Regions from separate parts of the Homo sapiens genome. Here all the other regions are linked to region 3. Evidence: promoter capture Hi-C in human tissues and cell types (Jung and others, 2019). All regions are on one chromosome and are shown on one strand. The core of a region is centred on a gene start or on the middle of the fragment in contact, and the rest is flanking DNA. Distances in the headings are between cores, read along the strand shown.

The links. The method cuts DNA at HindIII sites, captures the fragments that hold promoters and counts their contacts. A contact is called where the count stands out against the background at its distance.
Region 1: a fragment that was not itself captured here is called in contact with the fragment with the promoter of CALML5 in region 3 in 3 of the 25 tissues and cell types used here (adrenal gland, bladder and mesendoderm cells).
Region 2: a fragment that was not itself captured here is called in contact with the fragment with the promoter of CALML5 in region 3 in 5 of the 25 tissues and cell types used here (H1 embryonic stem cells, adrenal gland, heart right ventricle and 2 more).

The regions. Positions count from the first base shown.
Region 1 is chr10:5,428,053-5,430,869 of GRCh38, forward strand. NET1 (neuroepithelial cell transforming 1) reads left to right here. Exons shown (of 12, transcript NM_001047160.3): 3 at 1,118-1,177. Among named protein-coding and RNA genes, the nearest start is that of NET1, 17 kb to the left of the region's middle. The HindIII fragment of the contact is 8,393 bases long and covers 1-2,817 here.
Region 2 is chr10:5,563,979-5,566,749 of GRCh38, forward strand. LOC105376381 (a long non-coding RNA gene) reads right to left here. Exons shown (of 2, transcript XR_001747274.2): 1 at 2,558-2,771; 2 at 1-1,327. Among named protein-coding and RNA genes, the nearest start is that of LASTR, 31 kb to the right of the region's middle. RefSeq lists a silencer at 1-192. The HindIII fragment of the contact is 4,548 bases long and covers 1-2,771 here.
Region 3 is chr10:5,498,141-5,500,868 of GRCh38, forward strand. CALML5 (calmodulin like 5) reads right to left here and starts at 1,430. Exons shown (of 1, transcript NM_017422.5): 1 at 557-1,430. The coding sequence starts at 1,298. The coding sequence ends at 858. The HindIII fragment of the contact is 7,245 bases long and covers 1-2,728 here.

The DNA.
Region 1 (2,817 bases), core at 166-2,665, 70 kb before region 3:
TTTTTTTTTTTTTTTCTTCTCTATTGGCCCTATCTTGTTCAATTTTGATTCAATTCCCAGCAGTTTCTCCTCACTGTGGGGCCAGGAAGTTGACGGGAACCCTAACTAGTCACTTTTTAAGAGTTACCAAGAAGTAAGCTGTGTAGGTAACCTGAAAAGTTATTTTGAGATGTGGGAAAATGAAGTGTTACCCGTGGGTGCTTATTCACTATTAATTAAGTACCAGAAATGGTAGATATGTACACAGTTTTGCCACTACTGGTGCCAGAAGGGCTGAATGAAAGTGATAAATGGTAAGTGGAAAGTACTCCAGGGACATGGCTGTTCACCTTCTAGTTAATCAATCCTGCCTCAGGCAACAAATCTTAATTACTTTGGGCCATGAGAAAAGGATTTTTTTTTTCTAGTGAAGACCTTGCCCCCAAGATAAATAATGTGTTCCTTTTCAAAAAAAAAAAACTAGCTGATTTTATATTTAAAAAATTTTTACTTTTTCTCTAACAAGTACAGACAGCCCTTGATTTACATAAGAGTTCTGTTCTGAAAAACTTAAGTAGTATTTTAATAGGGTAGCCACTTCACAGCAGTGATGACTTAGTCAGGGGAGACTGTTCAGATAGTATCTATTCCAAAGACAATTCATGAGCGTCTCTCCTCAAGATAATTTTCTTTGTTTTTTTTTTTTTTTGAGAGGAAATCTTGCTCTGTCACCCAGGCTGGAGTGCAGTGGCGCAATCTCGGCTCACTGCAGCCTCTGCCTCCCAGGTTCAAACGATTCTCCTGCCTCAGCCTCTTGAGTAGCTGGGACTACAGGTGTGTGTCACCACGCGCAGCTAATTTTTTTTTTTTTTTTGGATTTTTAGTAGAGACAGGGTTTCGCCACGTTGGCCAGGCTGGTCTCGAACTCCTGACCTCAGACGATCCGCCCTCCTCAGCCTCCTAAAGTGCTGAAATTACAGACGTGAGCCACCGCGCCTGGCCTCAAAGTAATTTTCTTGTGACTATAGCCAAAGGCTTAACTTTTTTAAATTGATTTTTCTAGTTTTATAGAGTCTTTGTTTTGTGAGGTAATATGCATTCCTTTTATATGAGAATGAAATCTCTATTTTTCTTTTAGAAAAGAAAACGCAGAGAGAAAGATGATGATGTTGTAAGCCTTAGCAGCCTTGATCTGAAGGTAAGCCCTGCTGCCCTGTTAAAGAAAAGCATTTAAAAATATGCAGATAGCATTTTATTTCTGTGCTGCAAGAATAACAAATGCTGGTTTGGGTTTTTTTGTTTTTTTGTTTTTTGCATTTTGTAAGTGCAAAAGTGAATAATATTAGTTCATAGACACCGTCTTTTTTGCTATTCTACTTCTTTGTTAAGAATGAGGGAGAAACCACTCTCAAAATGTTAGGCTATAACTACTGATCACAAACACAAATGCTAAGGAGACAGGCTGTAATCTGTGCGAAGGAACGAGGTAAGAGAGGGCCGGTGGTGAAAAGGAGAGCCCCAGGTTCTAGCCCACTGTCACATGTAGGACTGTCAAAACCTGGATTTTTATGTGAAATCTCCTGAATTTTAAATGTTGAGTCAGTTTTTCTTAAAAAATACATGCAAGCAAAATAACTTATCTGTAAGTCATATGTGGCCCATGGGCTTCAAGGCTTCAAGTATGTGACATAGAATAAACTAACACTCAGCACACACTTTAAAATACTTGAAGTTTTCTTATATGAAATTGTACTTAAGTCCAAAAACCTAGTATCTTTGGAATTACTAACATCATTTTTGCCAGTTAGTAAATTTTACTGTAGCATCTTGGTTTTGGAGAGTCTTTTTTTAAGGTTATAAAAGAGTTGTACATTTTTAAATGTGATTTTTAAAAATGTTTCATATTATGTTTAACAGCAGCAGCTGCTGTTTCTTTTTAAAGACAAGATATTTTCTAAAAATTAAATTTTTATAATCTGCTCATCAACATTTTAACAAATCCAGCAAGTCAATTTTTTTCTTATTTTTAGTACACAGTGTCTTCATAGAAGAATTATGTGTTTTAAGTTGTAAGCATTTTGCAAAACAGTTTTAGTTGCATTTAAAATATCTTGTATTCAAAAAAAGAAAAAAGTATGAAATGACAACCTTGATTATTTTTAGGTATGTTTCAAATCAAATCAAATACAGAAATAGTATTTGTAGTTTGCCACAGTAAAATACGTGGTCTTCAACTAAGCTTTAGCAGTTATCAATATATGAATTATTTTGAAGTAAATCCTAGATGTCATGTCCTTTCATCTGTAAATATTCCATTTACTATCTTTATTGTCTTAGATAAAAACTTTTTTTTTTTTTTTTGAGGCGGAGTCTCGCTCTGTCTCCCAGGCTGGAGTGCAGTGGTGCGATCTCGGCCCCCTGCAACCTCCGCCTCCTGGGTTCAAGAGATTCTCTTGCCTCAGCCTCCTGAGTAGCTGAGATTACAGGTGTGTGCCACCATGCCCGGCTAATTTTTGTATTTTTAGTAGAGACAGGGTTTTGCCATGTTGTCCAGGCTGGTCTTGAATTCCAGACTCGGCCCCACAAAGTGCTGGGATTACAGGTGTGAGTCACCATGCCGGACCTTAGATAAGAACTTTTTAAAAACATAATAAAATACACTTTCTACAAAACAGTACAAATAATTCCTTAATATCAGATTCAGTTCAGAATTCATGCATTTTCTTGATCTTGTTTGTGTGTTTTTGTGGGGTTTTTTGTTTGTTTAGGTTTTTTTTGGTTTGGGGTTCATTTTGCCTGTTTGTAGTCCAAATAAGACACATACATTATGATTAACTA
Region 2 (2,771 bases), core at 6-2,505, 66 kb after region 3:
CGTTGCTCAGAGAGCTTCAGAGACAGACCCTTACTCCTGCATTGATGTCCATCCAAGGGACGGGGCTCAGGCTGTCCCTTCCAGCTCACGAAATAGGTGCAGAGCCAGGCAGAGCAGCCCAAGTGTGACTCACACCCCGCCAGGTCCCGTGGGCACTTTCTCAGCAGGGTTGTGGGGGCAGCAACTCCATCCACTTTCCTCTGTCCCCTCACCCGCCCACCACTGCCCACGGCCAGAGTCACTGGAGCAGCCTCCATTCCGTCCCTGCACGGCAGTCACCATGATCTCTCCAAACCACAAGTCAGGGTGTTGCCTCTGCTTACAAGCCTTTGGTGACTGCCTGCCGTCTCAGACATGCTCAGCAGCAGTCACACTCACCGCCCCGTCATGCCTGTCTCTCACCGTCCTCCCGGCTCGCTCTCCTCTCACCAGGCTTAACGGCCACACTTCCTGGGGCACTTCTGTGACCCCAGGGCCCGGCTGGTGCCCTTCCACGGTGGTGCTTCACCACCTTGCAATTGCTGGTTTACATCCCTGATCACCCAGACTAAACGTGAAGGGCCAGGACTGTGCTGAAAGTCCTGAAACCCAGAGATGAGAGCTCAGCTCAGACCGCACGTGATGCCTCGGTGTGGACATGTGCCCAGCTGAGCGTGCAAGCCCCTAATGGCCGCTCAGCAATGCTTGTGTTTTCTCCCTTGAAACTCTGGAGCAACTGCAGCCAAACATCCTCTGCTCACTCTGTTTGTATCTCTGTCCTCTAAATCAGCCCTCTGACTTCCTCCCCGCCTGCGATGAGACTGTGAAGGAATAACAACATCCGGAGGAGATTGTGCCCCAACTTGGCTGTCGAAGGGGCCTCATCAGCCACCTTCATGGCCCAGACGGTCAAAGGCTGACCCCACAGAGTAAGGCTGGCCCTAGGAAGAGTGGGTGCTGGGCAAGGTCCACCGTGTGCCGCAAGATCCCCCATTTAATGCAAACAACATCTCAATGAAAGATAGCATCAAAGACGGCAGTCTGAAGCCCAGGGAAGGGCGTGGACTTTGAAGTTGGGCAGGTTTGAGTTTAAGTGTTGTTTTGCCACTTCTGCTGTCTGTACCATCTTGGCAATCTGTAAAATGCATATAACACCTCGTGTGTTAGGGTGGGTCCTTGCTGCAATAACAAACAACCCCAGATCTCAGTAACTGCGTGCAATGAAACACCTGCTTCTCCCTCACACGAAGCCGAATGTGATGGTTTCTAGTTACATGGTTCTCTTGGGTGGGCTTCTCCCAGGCCGCAGCTCCACTGAGCTCCATAGTCCCCCGCTGGATCTCCTGCCCTAAAGTGGTCAACAGATGAAGAGAGACGGTGTGAGTATTGGGCAGGAGGTTTCTGGGGCAGCCTGGAGGTGGTGTCCTCCAGCATCACTCCCAGGGGCCCCGGCTGCAAGCAGGACATGCTGAAGCTGCAGTGTTCTGGGAAAGACATAGCCCCGCTTCTGCCACACCTGCCTGGCAGAATTGTCATGTTTTAGGGGACGGCTCGTAAAATGGCTTAACAGGCTCTTGGCCCAGGGACTGCTAGAATAGTGAGTTTCCTTCTTCTCTTCGCCTTTGGTGATGTTGGGGCTGGAAGATTTCTAGAATGAGCTGTGTCTGTAAAGAAGCCTCAAGTCTTTTTTTTTAAGCACCCGCGGATGAGGCTTTTTGAGGCACTAGCCGGGCATCAGAGGCCCAGGGAAGTTCAAGGGTTCACCCTGATTGGCCTGAACATCTGGGAAGTTCTGGGCTGAGCACGATGACAAATGTGCCTCCCACCCCCACCATCCACACTCATCTACCCACACACACGGGTTCTGTCCTGCCCCGAAGGAAGATGGTTTCAGGATGACTGGATTTCTGAATTTCCTCCGTGCAGATTAAGGAGGCTTAAGAAGCCCGCCTGTTGGGAGGAAGCCTCCGACCGGAGCTGCTCTGGCTGGGAAGGGGTGGCTCAGGGTGGTGCCTGCTGTTCAGCCAGGCTCCCCGAGGCAGGTGGGATGAGACACCTGGGTGGGGCGGGCAGAAGCTCAGAGTCTGCACGGTGCCAGGGAGGATGATGAGGGCGAGGATGGATGAGCCCACAGGGGTGCATACTCCACCTCCCGAAAACACAAGGAGCTCAGCGGCTGCACACACAGGCAGCACAGAAAAGAACAATGGGGCAACTCGAGGGCGTTCTGAGGGTACCTCTTGCCTACATCACCTGGTTTTAGTCATCTCCCACGTGCCTGCCTTCAGGCTGATGGACTTCTGTGAGATCCCTGGGTTGCTGGCTTTGAAAGCCACTGGGTACCGACCACCCACATCTTGGCAGGGGAGCTCCCATTGCTAACATTGCTTCATAAAGTGCCACTGGAGAACAGCTGTTGAGTGGTGACCAGCCCCCAAGGAGTCAACCGCCTTTCCCACCCCCAACTCACCAGAGTCCCATGAGGACACCCCACACTCAAACCCAATCTGGACAAAACTGTCAAGGACCCTAACCCAGGCGTGCCCCCCACCTTCTCATCCAGCTCCCTTTGACTCACTTGGGTGGTCGCAGCCGCCGGCTGTGATTTCTGGCCCATGCCTAGTTATTTTAAAGGCCAAATTTTCACAGCCATGCAACAGGCCCTTATCTCCAGGCCTTCAGATGCTCCCATGTGGCTTGTTTGATTCTCCTTCATATCAGCCCTCTCTCAAGACTCAAATTTCATTTCAAACCAAATTTCTCTTTTCTCCATTCTGTTGACTGGGCATCAC
Region 3 (2,728 bases), core at 180-2,679:
AGACACACAGATAAGACACACACACAAATGGACACACACAGACACATAGACACAGAGACACACTCAGACACACACACAGATACACACATACACATGCAGATGCACACAAGGACACACAGACACACAAACATACAGAGACTTACACACAGATGCACACATACAGAGACACGCATACAGACACACAGACACACACACAGATGCACACACAGACGTACACGTATATTATTTGCAGCCGAAGAGAGGCAGGCTGCGTGCAGAGGCTGGCAGCTGGGCTCCGTCTGTCCATGCGAGGCGCCCGCTCCTGTTTGTGCGGGACACGTGCCCAGGTCCTCACCAGCAGCTCAGGCAGAACCTGGAGCCACAGACACCGCCCAGCACCATCCTCACACATCCTCTGCCCACCTGCCCTCTGCTCCGCGTCAGGGGAGGCAGGAGCTGCCCCTGGGGCCTGCTCCAGGCAGTTCTGCCACCGCAGGTGAGAGGGGTGGGCTGGAAGGAACCCTGGAAGCAGGTGGGGGCCCTCGGAGGCAGCCGCCCCACAAACACCAAGCACACATGGAACTCGGCAGTCCTTTATTTAGATCAATGCGGGGCTGAGGGGCCCTCATTCCACTGCAGGGCAAAGGGGGACCAGGCCCAAGGAGGCCTCCTTCTGCCCAAGGTCTGGAGGCAGAGAGGGGCTCGCAGGCGGCCCGAGGGCGCCGCATCCAGGCCCCGGAGCGCAAAGCCTTCCTCCCAGGGGGAGGCAGTTTCCCATCCACCGACCAGGTTTCCCCGGAGAGTCCCAGCACAAAAGCAGCAGCGGGCGGTGGCCCTGAAGGCTCAGAGCGCAGCCAGGGGGACACAGGCGGGGAGCCTCACTCCTGGGCGAGCATCCTCGCGAACTCCTCGTAGTTCACCCGCCCGTCCTGGTCCACGTCGGCCTCGCGGATCATGGCGTCCAGCTCCTCCTGCGGCAGCGGCTGCCCCAGCCCCGCCATGGCCCGCCTGAGCTCGTCCACGGTGATGTGGCCGTCGCCATCCTGGTCGAAGGCGCGGAAGGCGACCTGCAGGTCCTCCAGGCCGGCCCTGGCCTTCTTCGCCGCCGTCAGGAACTCCTGGAAGCTGATTTCGCCGTCGCCGTCGCTGTCAACCTCGGAGATGAGTTTCCTTAGCTGGGCCTCCGAGAGGTTCTTGCCCGTGGCCTTCAGCGCCGCGCCCAGCTCCTGGGCATTGATGGTGCCGTTTCCATCCGTGTCAACCGCGGAGAAAGCCTTTTTGTACTGGGCCTCCTCCTCAGGAGTCAGCTCACCGGCCATGCCTGCGTCTCCTGCACCTCGCGGAGCCTCCGAGCTGCTGCCCACCGGCCCTCAACCTGCTGCTCTCAGAGCTCGTGGTCCAGAGTGCAGGCAGCCGCAGGGATCCGGGCAGCGTCTGTCCCAGACAGTTCTGCCTTGGCATGGGAACCCCCTCCTTTTCTGCAATCGGAACAAAGGGAGGAGGGAGGCTCCCCACCCTCCAAATGCCCTGGGGTGAGAGCCTCCTCCCAGGGAGGGCCAGATCAGCTGCAGACAGGAAATGCAGGAATGGGAGTTGGGAGAGCTGTCAGGTGCCAGGTGGGAACTGCCATGGGGTCGGGGTATCGGATGGCTAGCCTGCCAACCCCGCCTGGCCTTGATAGCAACCACCTCCCTCCAGGAACATTCTGCCCAAGGGATAGTTTCCCCTGCAGCTGATTCTCGGAGATCCTGACCAAGCCAAGGGGTTCAAGACAGCTTCTGCAACTTCACAAAGACTGAGACTGGAGGGGGAGGTGGCTTGAAGAGGGCTCCCTCAAGGGCACAGCAGGCCCCAGTGTTTGGTGTTTCCGTACCCCTCTCTCCAGTGCTACTGCCTAGCTCTTGCCCTGAGGCTGGGGCTGGTGGAAGGGAAGTGGGTGGTAGTGTTGATTCTGCCAGGGCACAACTGTGGGTATCATGAGATTCCCAGGCCAGGGTCTAGAGACAGAGGATGGGGCTCACTGCCTATAACTTCAAGGAAGCAAGGGACCAGGGCTGCCTTCAGAGCCATAGCTGGTGCTGAGATGGTGTTTATCAAGTGAACATGTGACGTGCAGTTTCAGAGGAGAGGGAAAGACTTTTTGTCTCCCCAGAATACTCCCTTCTAGCTCAGGGATTCCTACAATTCAATTCCATCGCCAAGTCCAAGGTTCCCTGTGCAGACACCCTGGGAGCTCAGTGGCAGGCGTTCCATTCACAGGGCGTCAAACAGTTACAGCTGGAGTTTTGCTGCAGCGAGACACGGGGGACCTCAGTGCCCAGCATACCCCAAAGGTGCAGGCAGAGGTGCAGGAGGATGCAGAACAGGTGGCTGCCATCAAACTTGGCCCTCCTTGTGGTTTTACTAAGCATCAGCCCTAAGCACAGAGACCCATCTGGGAGCCTACTGGGGTCCTCAATCTGATCTGTTCTCTGGAAGGAAACCCCCAGGGCCACTTGCCTTGACCAACTTTTAGAGCAACAGCTAAGCTTTCGGGGGACCATCCCCAAGTCCTTCCACTGATGTGATCTACAGTTGTGAGGGGACATTTGCCTTGGAGTCCCCAAAATGCCTTTCCCAAGCAAGTCCCCTCTGATCTCCATAGATTCCCATTCTTCTCCCCAGCCCCTGCCCGTACACAGGGAACAAACTCCTTTATTCCCCTGGGAAAGTTTATACATTCCACCTCCCTCCTGTTCAGCCCATCAAA